Linked DNA regions of Homo sapiens: region 1 is linked to region 2. Evidence: promoter capture Hi-C in 16 types of primary human blood cells and fetal thymus (Javierre and others, 2016). All regions are on one chromosome and are shown on one strand. The core of a region is centred on a gene start or on the middle of the fragment in contact, and the rest is flanking DNA. Distances in the headings are between cores, read along the strand shown. Region 1 overlaps CACNA2D1 (calcium voltage-gated channel auxiliary subunit alpha2delta 1). Region 2 holds the start of CACNA2D1 (calcium voltage-gated channel auxiliary subunit alpha2delta 1).

The links. The method cuts DNA at HindIII sites, captures the fragments that hold promoters and counts their contacts. A CHiCAGO score of 5 or more calls a contact.
Region 1: a fragment that was not itself captured here is called in contact with the fragment with the promoter of CACNA2D1 in region 2 in 1 of 17 cell types (endothelial precursors); the score reaches 5.4 in endothelial precursors.

The regions. Positions count from the first base shown.
Region 1 is chr7:82,249,491-82,253,915 of GRCh38, forward strand. All of the region lies in intron 3 of CACNA2D1 (calcium voltage-gated channel auxiliary subunit alpha2delta 1), which reads right to left. Among named protein-coding and RNA genes, the nearest start is that of CACNA2D1, 190 kb to the right of the region's middle. The HindIII fragment of the contact is 1,590 bases long and covers 1,091-2,680 here.
Region 2 is chr7:82,442,064-82,446,659 of GRCh38, forward strand. It overlaps CACNA2D1 (calcium voltage-gated channel auxiliary subunit alpha2delta 1), which reads right to left and starts at 1,714. Exons shown (of 39, transcript NM_000722.4): 1 at 1,302-1,714. The coding sequence starts at 1,396. RefSeq lists an enhancer at 156-719. The HindIII fragment of the contact is 3,454 bases long and covers 325-3,778 here.

The DNA of each region.
Region 1 (4,425 bases), core at 636-3,135, 190 kb before region 2:
TTTTGACTGGCTAAAGAAAGACATTTCCTTGGTTCTTAACTTCTTCATATGTTAGCATTATCTTTAACACATCATGTTCAGCATTGCTAACCTCATAGTTACAAAATGGTTGGAAATAAACCTGAAATCATCCTTTTCATCCGTCCAGTGGGAGAATAAGGGTCATATTCTCACAACCATCAAACAATAATACTGAACCCACCTATTAAAATACCCTTGATGTGATCTCTATAATCATGCACGCATGTTGTGCTGATTGGCTTAGACAGATTTTATCTCAGTCCTGAACCAATCAGAACCTATCCCTGAAGCTGGGCCTAGGATCAATCCTACATAATCCTATCTACATTTTATGACAGTTACAGTATGAGAGTTTTGAGAAGGGGGGAAATAGGAAAATGATTGGTGAGTAGGTGTCTTAGTCCATTTTCTGCTGCTATATTAGAAAACCATGGACTGGGTAATTTATAAAGAACAGAAGTTTATTTGGCACACAGTTTTGGAGACTGTCAAGTCCCAGAGCATGGTGCTAGCACCAGCGAGGGTCTTCCCATGGTGAAGGCAGAAGCAAGCAAGTAAACAGAGAGAGGCACCAGTGGCAGGATTTGTAATAACCCACTCCCATGATAACTAACCCATTCCTGAGACATTGACATTAATCCATTCATGAGGTCTCCACCCTCATTGCCCAATCACCTCTTATTAGGCTCCACCTCCCAACAGTGCTACATTGGGAATTAAGTTTCAAACATAAGAACTTTTGGGGAATACATTCAAACCACAGTAGTAAGTAATGGGCAAAACTGTCTCTACTGCTCTTCTGCAATTCTCCTGCATTTTAAGGAAGCTTTATAATACTACGTGGAGAGAGAAAAGCATAATCCTATAAAAATAAATTCTCATTGTAGGAAAGCATTTTTGTTTCTTAAATAACATATAAAATCTTATATAATTTCCTGTGGATATATCCTGAAATATCCTTTTAACTTCATCACATAAGTAGGTACATACAGGCAATTCTTAGGGATCTGCACCTAGTGGCTTTAATTATCTTTTCTCTGAGGAGATTCACTATTCTAGTAGGAGTCTAAGCTTCTATTGTTATTGCTTAAGCAATAATTTTATGTGTTAGCTCTCAAATTTTAACAAATACCAACTTCTAACATCATAATATAGTAACTTTATTTTAATTTAATTTCTTACTTAGCATTTTGCTTTTAGTACATAGCATTCTTCCAAGAAATTAAATAATGGCCCTTTTGTCTGTTCTTCTTTTCTTGAAAAGATTTCACAAGAGTTCTGGTTTACTGGTAATTTCAAATACCTGTCACATGAAATAATTGCTTTCTATCACTAGCATTTTTCCCAGACTATCAGCAATCAAAAATCACTTACAGTTTGCCACAAGAATATCTCAGGACTTGATTTGTATCATTTTTAATAACCTTTTCCCATATATTTTCAAAAATTAGAGAGTCTGTTGTACATATTTATCTATTTATTTGAATAAATAAAGCCAAAAACTATAAGAAGCAGTCATATGACACATAACAAGTCAGATATCTGTATCTGTATTCAAAAATCTTCTTTAAGCAAGGGAACATAATAATGAATGCTGTTCTCATACTCTCCTGTATCTCCCATCTCTCAACGCCATGATGTAATAAGAAGTTACTGAACAGTATTAAAGCCAGAAATCACCTGCTTCTGCCACTTGTATAATTTCCACATTTTTAAAAAGCCTGTAAAATGATCAATTCACTACCACCTAAAATAGGTTGCTGCTGTGATATCTGAAAACAGAGATTTTAAATCCTGTACTAAGAACAATCACAAAAAGAGACACAAAACTATGTTTTGGGTACTGGAAATTATCTATATCTTGATAGTAATTTGTTATACATTGCTGTAGGCTTCTGTCGAAACTCACTGAATTTCAAACTTAAGATTTGTGCATTTCATTGTACATTCATGGTACCTCAAAGGAAATATTTACATACACACATATATAAAATAATTTAAGAGTACAATGTATTATCATTGTGCTGTGACAACTAGATCCTTGTAAAGCAATTACTCCACTGGTTATCTGCCCAAGGACAATATGGGTGTGAAAGGATTAAGCTGTAATGCTTTTTTCCGTTGCTTTTCTAGGTATGTAAGTGATTTGATGTTATTATGCCCTCTGTTCTTTTCATTTTCAGAGCCATACATTGAAAATCTTTTTCCAGCTTTGTGTATGCCATACATTAGATTCATTAGAATAACTCCCAATTAGAAAATATCAAGTAGTCCATTAGTGGTTACATAGCTTGGAAGGAGCAGGAGATAGGATGCAAATCTGGACCTATCTGATGACACATCCTTAGCTTCCCATGGGCAACCTTTAACATTTTTTGTCCATAAACAGTTATGAGTCGCAGAACTACAAGGGACATGCAAGATAAAAAGCCTAGTGATTATCACTTTATTTCTCTATGATATATGTACTTTGGAATACCCCAATCTGTGTCTTTCAAAATACAAGAGATTTCAATTTTTTATGTCATTTACTATATTTTATTTATTAGACAATATAACAATGATTGTTTTCCAAAAACATCCTACCCTATTCTTCTTGTTTTAAAATGAGAATGCGAGTATGCTTTGCAAGGGGCAAAATAGAAACTAAATTTCAGTAAGCTTCTTCCCTTTGCAACAATAATAATAATAAACATTTATTTGAGTGCTGATGATAGGCCAAGCATTTTGCAAACTGCTTGATGTAATCCTTACAACTATGCTCTGAGGTAGTTATGCTTATAGCACTCATTTTTCCAAAGTAAAGAGAGGTGAAGTTACTTGCCTTTCAGTAACAGCTAATGAGTAGTGGAGCCAATATTTGAAAACTGGCAGGCCTGTCTGGCCTTATCACAACTATACCATCCATACTCTCTTAATTAAACATGCATTGGCTCATTTATTAAGCATATATTTATTGAATGCCCGCTGCACTCATCAGTAGAGACTTAGAGTTCCTGACCTCAAGGAGTTACAAAAATAGTAGGTGTTACACTACTAGAAAATGTCACTGCCATTTGATAAGAACTATGCTATTTAAGCAAGAGGAGGAAACACTTGGCCGGGCGTGGTGGCTCACGCCTGTAATCCCAGCAGTTTGGGAGGCCAAGGCGGGCAGATCATGAGGTCAAGAGATCGAGACCATCTGGGCCAACATGGTGAAACCCTGTCTCTACTAAAAATACAAAAATTAGCTGGGCGTGGTGGTGCGTGCCTGTAGTCCCAGCTACTCAGGAAGCTGAGGCAGGAGAATTGCTTGAACCCGGGAGGCAGAGGTTGCAGTGAGCCAAGATCACGCCACTGCACTCCAGCCTGGGTGACAGAGTGAGAATTCGTCAGAAAAAAAAAAACAAACACTTAACCCAGACACAAATTGTGGTAGCTGGCAGGGTGGATTGAGGGAGAGATAAGAGAGGCTAAAACATACGAAGGTTCTGTGGAGAAAGCCCAATTTTAAAGAATGAGAAGTTAACCAGCTGAGGAATAAAATTAAGGGTGTCCAAAGGTCAGGGCACAAAGTGAACATTCAGGGAAATGGAAGTGTGAGTGGATTATAGAGAGGAATGGCTGGAGAAGAAGGGCTTATACTGGATTTGACTTTCAAAATAATTTGGATTTCATAACAAAGAGAATGAGAAACCATTACAGAATTTGGGATAGAAAAAGTGATAAGTTTTGAATCTGAAAAAGATGATTGGCAGTAGTATGGAAAATGAATCAAATCACAGGGCTGTGAGAATCTAAAGCAAGAAGACAGAAACACAGACCAGAAATGATAAGCGCATCATGTGAGGCAGGCATAGGGCCATGGCCAGACTTCTACATTTTACTGAAAAGGAGATCCATGAAGAGAGAAAGGAACTTTGTAATTAAGGTATTGTCATACTGCATGTATCACACAATGTTCAAGAACTTTCATCAAGGGCATGATGAGAAAAACTGGCTCTGGAAGATGGTTTCAGGTTACAAGGAAATCTAAAAGATACCAATAAATATTTTGATACACAAAAGTAAGATAAACTAAAAGAATCTGAGAAGTCTTGAGATACCGGCATACAAAATAAATGAACATTAATGTTAATGATCTTTCATGTTAAATTCTTATATAACTTTTTGTTTAATAAATGTCATGGTCCTATATAATGTGTTTTTATGATATTACATGATTTTTACACTAGAAATAATGTATATATGGTCTTTATTCTCCAGAAACTTGCAAGGTCTCAGAGCAGATTACCTGAAGCTACTGAACCTTGAATTTAGTATGTTCCCACATGGCTAAGAAACATGAGGTCAAAATATTTTTTAGATGGCAGATTTTTTTTGGAAAGAAATAAACTCTTTTGTTTTCTTGACAACACTGTT
Region 2 (4,596 bases), core at 464-2,963:
AAGAGGAACATTACTGTAACTCAATGACAACAAAAATTAGACACTCCCCTTCTCCGGGATAGAATGTGCATCCTCCAGATTCTTGCACTGACACCTAAGGTAATAAATACTTAAAACTGAATCTTAAATAATAGCCGCAGGATTTCAACCGCTAAAGATTCACTGTTACTTTCCACCAAAAACTCCTGTATTCAGCACTCAGCCAACAAAGGACAGCAAGTAATTCCCAGCAGCATAAATACCGGGAAAGCTACCTTGGGCTTTGTTTTTGTTATGTAAAATGCATTAAAGTGACTCATCCACTTAAGATTACCTACCTTTAGAAGCTTTAAAGAAGCTCCAAGAACCAAAATAAATGCTTTCCCAGAATGCCGGATAGGCTATTCGGTGCATTAAAAAATATGTATATATTTATATGTGCCATTGAGTTTGATTCTATTTTGCTAAGAAAGGAGAGAATTATTATTTTTCATTCCCTTCCTGTGGTGTGACTATAGCTACCTATAAGCCCTCTATTTCCAGAACAGCAGCGAGGTTTTTAAAAGTTATTTTAGAAATGGTAAAAATAAAAGAAAATTTGTAGGAGACTGGAAATAGTCCCTCCTTCAAAGAATAGGCTCTATTCATTTGAAGAACAGGGACCGCGTGTCTGCCGACACTTAGATGTTTCAAATAATGGGTTGGGGAGGTTGGATCGCGTGGTCCCAGTACCTGCGAGCCCCCTGCGTGGACAGCACGCTCGGCCGCGGGGAGCCAGCACGCGTCTAATCGGAAGGCTGTCAAGTGCATCCAGTAACGTGGGATAAAACGAGTTTGGGCACTACAGCAATTAAAGAGCATCTCCGAGGCCAAGTGCGGGGGAAGTCCACGCTACCTCGGCAAGCCTGAAATTACCTGTTTGTAAATTACCCAACCAAAACATAACTTTTTATTGAACTGGGTTGAATCAGAGCGGGTGAGCTGGCTGGAAACTTTTTTCCCCAGTACGGCTGCACTCTGAAGTCTAGAGAATCCCGTTAGAGACGGGCTGAGACGCCGCGAGTCGTCGGCGGGCGCTTCCCGGGACAGTCGGCCCCCAGTGCCCGGCCCCGTGGAGGCGCCCGAGACGCCGGTTCGGGACGCATTCCAGCGGCGAGCGGCGCGCACCGCCTGCCCGGCGTCTCCGCATCCGAGCCTGGCTCCCCGGCCGCTCGCTCCCCACCCCCACGGGCGGAAAAGCCCCGCGACTCGGGAACCGACCCCCACCCCCAACTCCCGCGGCGCCCCTCGGCCGGCGCTCCCTGCCCGGCCCGCCGACTTACGTGACGGCCGAAGGGAACGGCTCCTCCGACGAGGGGCCGATGAGCAAAGATTGGAAAAGTGTCAGAGTCAAGGCCAGCAGGCAGCCAGCAGCCATCTTCGCGATCGAAGATCAATGCCCCCTCCCTGCCCAAGCGGGGGAAGGAGCGGCGCTGGAAACCGCGGGCGGAGGAAGAGCAGCACACGCCGCCGGGACCGCGGGCGTCTGGAGGGCTGGCTGCGCCCGGGGCCCGAGGCGCGGAGCCGCGCGGGGGACGGCAAGGGCGGGAGCGGACGCCGAGGAAGGGGCGGTGGCGGGCGGACCCACTAGCGTGCGTCGGCTGCTCCGCGCCGCGGCCGCCTTGCCTCCGCCGCCATCAAGGGCGACTTTGGAAACAGACCTCGGCGAGCCCGCCGGCGCTCGCGCGCTCTCGCTCTCCCTCTCGGTTTCCTCCCTGATTTATTCCCCCGATTGCCGAGGCGAAGGCGGAGGCGGGGGCGGGGGCGGAGGAGGGGTGACGGCGCTGGAGGGTGGGGGTGGCTGCAGGAATCGGGGAATGGCAGGCAGAGAGACTTGTGGAAGCGAGAGGCTCCGTCTGGCTTCTTAGGCAAGTCAGAGGGAGGCGGCTGGGGGTGGGCAGCGGGAGGGCTGGGCGTCAGAGCAGTCGGGCGGAGACGGGCCGGGAGCAGCCCTCCATACAAGGCAGCCAGGAACTCCCAAAGTCGGCGCCGGCTCGCTCCCGCCGCCCGGCGTGCGCAGGCGGAGCGGACCAGCCCCGCGGGGCTCCCGGGGGACGGCCAGCCGCCCAGCGGGCATCCACAGGCTGCAGAGGCTCCAACCCAGGACTTGGCTCGCGTCTTCGGGGGTTATTTTTGCACATGCAGGCAGCGTTCCCCCCCAGCCCTACTCCCAGGCGCAGAATCCAGTGCCTGCCTGGGAATCGTGAAGTGATTTGACAACAAATGTAGGAGGGGTTTGTATTGCATTTTAAAGCACCACTGTTGACTCTCTACCAGGTGGCACTATATGCCCGCGTGTGCCATAGGTTAGAGCCTCTGCCGGGGCTGGGTGCCCTTTGTGCCAGCGGTCCCACGCCCAGGTACTGCTCGGCTCACCTGGCGAGGACAGAGCCTCAGGGACCGGGCTGTGGACGGACAGAGAAGTACTGACGCTGTAAAATCTTCCCAGCCCTGTGGTTCCATTGGACAGAGGGGTGGAGGGACGAATTCTGCATCTAGGGAGGACAGTAGTAAGAGAAGCGCTTTGCAGCATCCCAGTTGGGACTACCTCCAAAAGGGTCCTAACGCCCTGCTCTGGCCACTGGCCTGCCCTGCCTGACAAGGTTACCGCAGGGTGAGCTCACTTTTGTCAATGCGAAGGCATGAAAAGGGTAAGCAGCAGGAACAGGTGGCACTCTGAGAAATGCGCCTGAAATGTAGAGGAGGAATTAAGGGAGGGGGAGAGAGCTAGGGAGTAGCAATGCCGGACTGGTTTTATCTCCAGACTCAGAGGAAGCAGTGGCGGGCTTTCTCCTTGAAAAGACAGGGTCTGCGACTAGGCCTCTCCCGCCCAACACAGGCCTCCTACAAGAGGGCCCTGGTGGGCCAAAGATAGAAATATATTCTTGCACACCTTAAATTCTTAAGCTCCCTCTAGTAGTGTATGAGAATACTTTTGACATGACGTGCAGAGAATACAATTTGTGATGACTATCCTGCATATGCAAAAATTCTGTAAGTATCGGGGTGGCTGTCAGATTTTTAATTAGCCCGTTCTTATTTTTAGGAGATGCTTCTGAAAGAAAAAGACCCTTATTAATTCGAAATGAATTTTCCAGCTCTCTGAAGGCAATCTCCCAAAACAAAGACTAATAATAATACTACTACTATTAATTACTGGCCAAATTTTAAGAGCGTGTGTGATTTTATGATGCTTAGCCTGGTGAATTTATTTTTCCTTCCCACTTATTTCTCCTTTTTTTAATGCCTTATTTGTTTTCTTTATGTTCTTCGCATCTCTGTCTTGCTCTTTGTTTCTTTCTACTCTGAGTGGCCTCACAAAAGGCACCCCACCGTGACTTAACTTAGTTTGTTTTATGCTAGGCATGGATACTGTGGCAGCAGGAGCTGCGCAAATGAGGGATGAAGTGGGATGTAATGGGATTGAGAACTACAGCTCAGGAGGGATATTTTATATAACTGAAGATAGCATTCCACTCCAAAATTAGATAAGTAAATAGTCAAATCCATCATTTCTTCCATTTTTAATAATTCAAAAGCAGACTTTCTTCCCCAGCATGAGGACTAAGAAGAGCAGAATTAGAGATGCCCATTATTGTCTATGTGATATGTTGGTATCAATAGCCTCACTACCTAAAAATACCATTGTTATATATTCTGTCAATTATTTCAACATCAACTCCAGACTTCCCACTATGGTACACTGTTTCCAATTTTATATCTTTAGGAGAAAGGGCTTAAAGAATAAAAGAATGTAATAAGCTTGTAGAGAAGGTAAGTCAGCCTTTATTATTAACTTTGTTGGCCTTTGAGCCAAATCTCAATTTCTTTGGATCACTCTGTTGAAGCACTGAGTTCTCCAATATGTGAAGCTGTTGAGGAAAGATATTGCTTCTACAATTCTTACTGAAAGGGTTGGTTATCATCTGTGAGCCTAAATCATTGTTTAATACTCTGTTGCGAGGTTTGCTATTAATTGCTTTTTACCAATCTAAACCTTCTTATTGAGGATATTCAAAATGTGGTTTTTTTTTAAATGTATGACAGCTAAAAGAAGACCATTTCCATAACATAGCATTAGGTTTCTGTTGGATTAACTATACCCATAACAATGCATTTTTTCAGCTCAGTTCTGTTATTTTGGAAAATTCCCTTAAAATCAGATTATATCCCATTAATCTTAATAAAATTTTGCTTAATCACGATAAATTTGCTGTTCAACATGTTGACAAATCATAAGGATTGTTGTTAAGCTGTTATAGTAAATGATGTAAATGTGCAGTAAATACAGTTAATATATTACAGGTTATAAATGAGCAAGAAGTCGCAAATCAGTATCTACTATTCATTTAAGAAGAAATATTTTAATTAGTAAGTTAGTGAAGTATTGCAGGAGATTTTTGCATTTAATCATTTCTAGAACAAAGTTTAAAGAGATTTAATTCATGCAAATCACTGACCTTTACCTACAACAAACTTGCGATTGGCACCTTTTGGCTAAATCTCAGTTTTTAATTCATATATTTAATTTGTTCATATACATTTCATTTTTTAGTAACTAAAAGTGAATAAAGAACA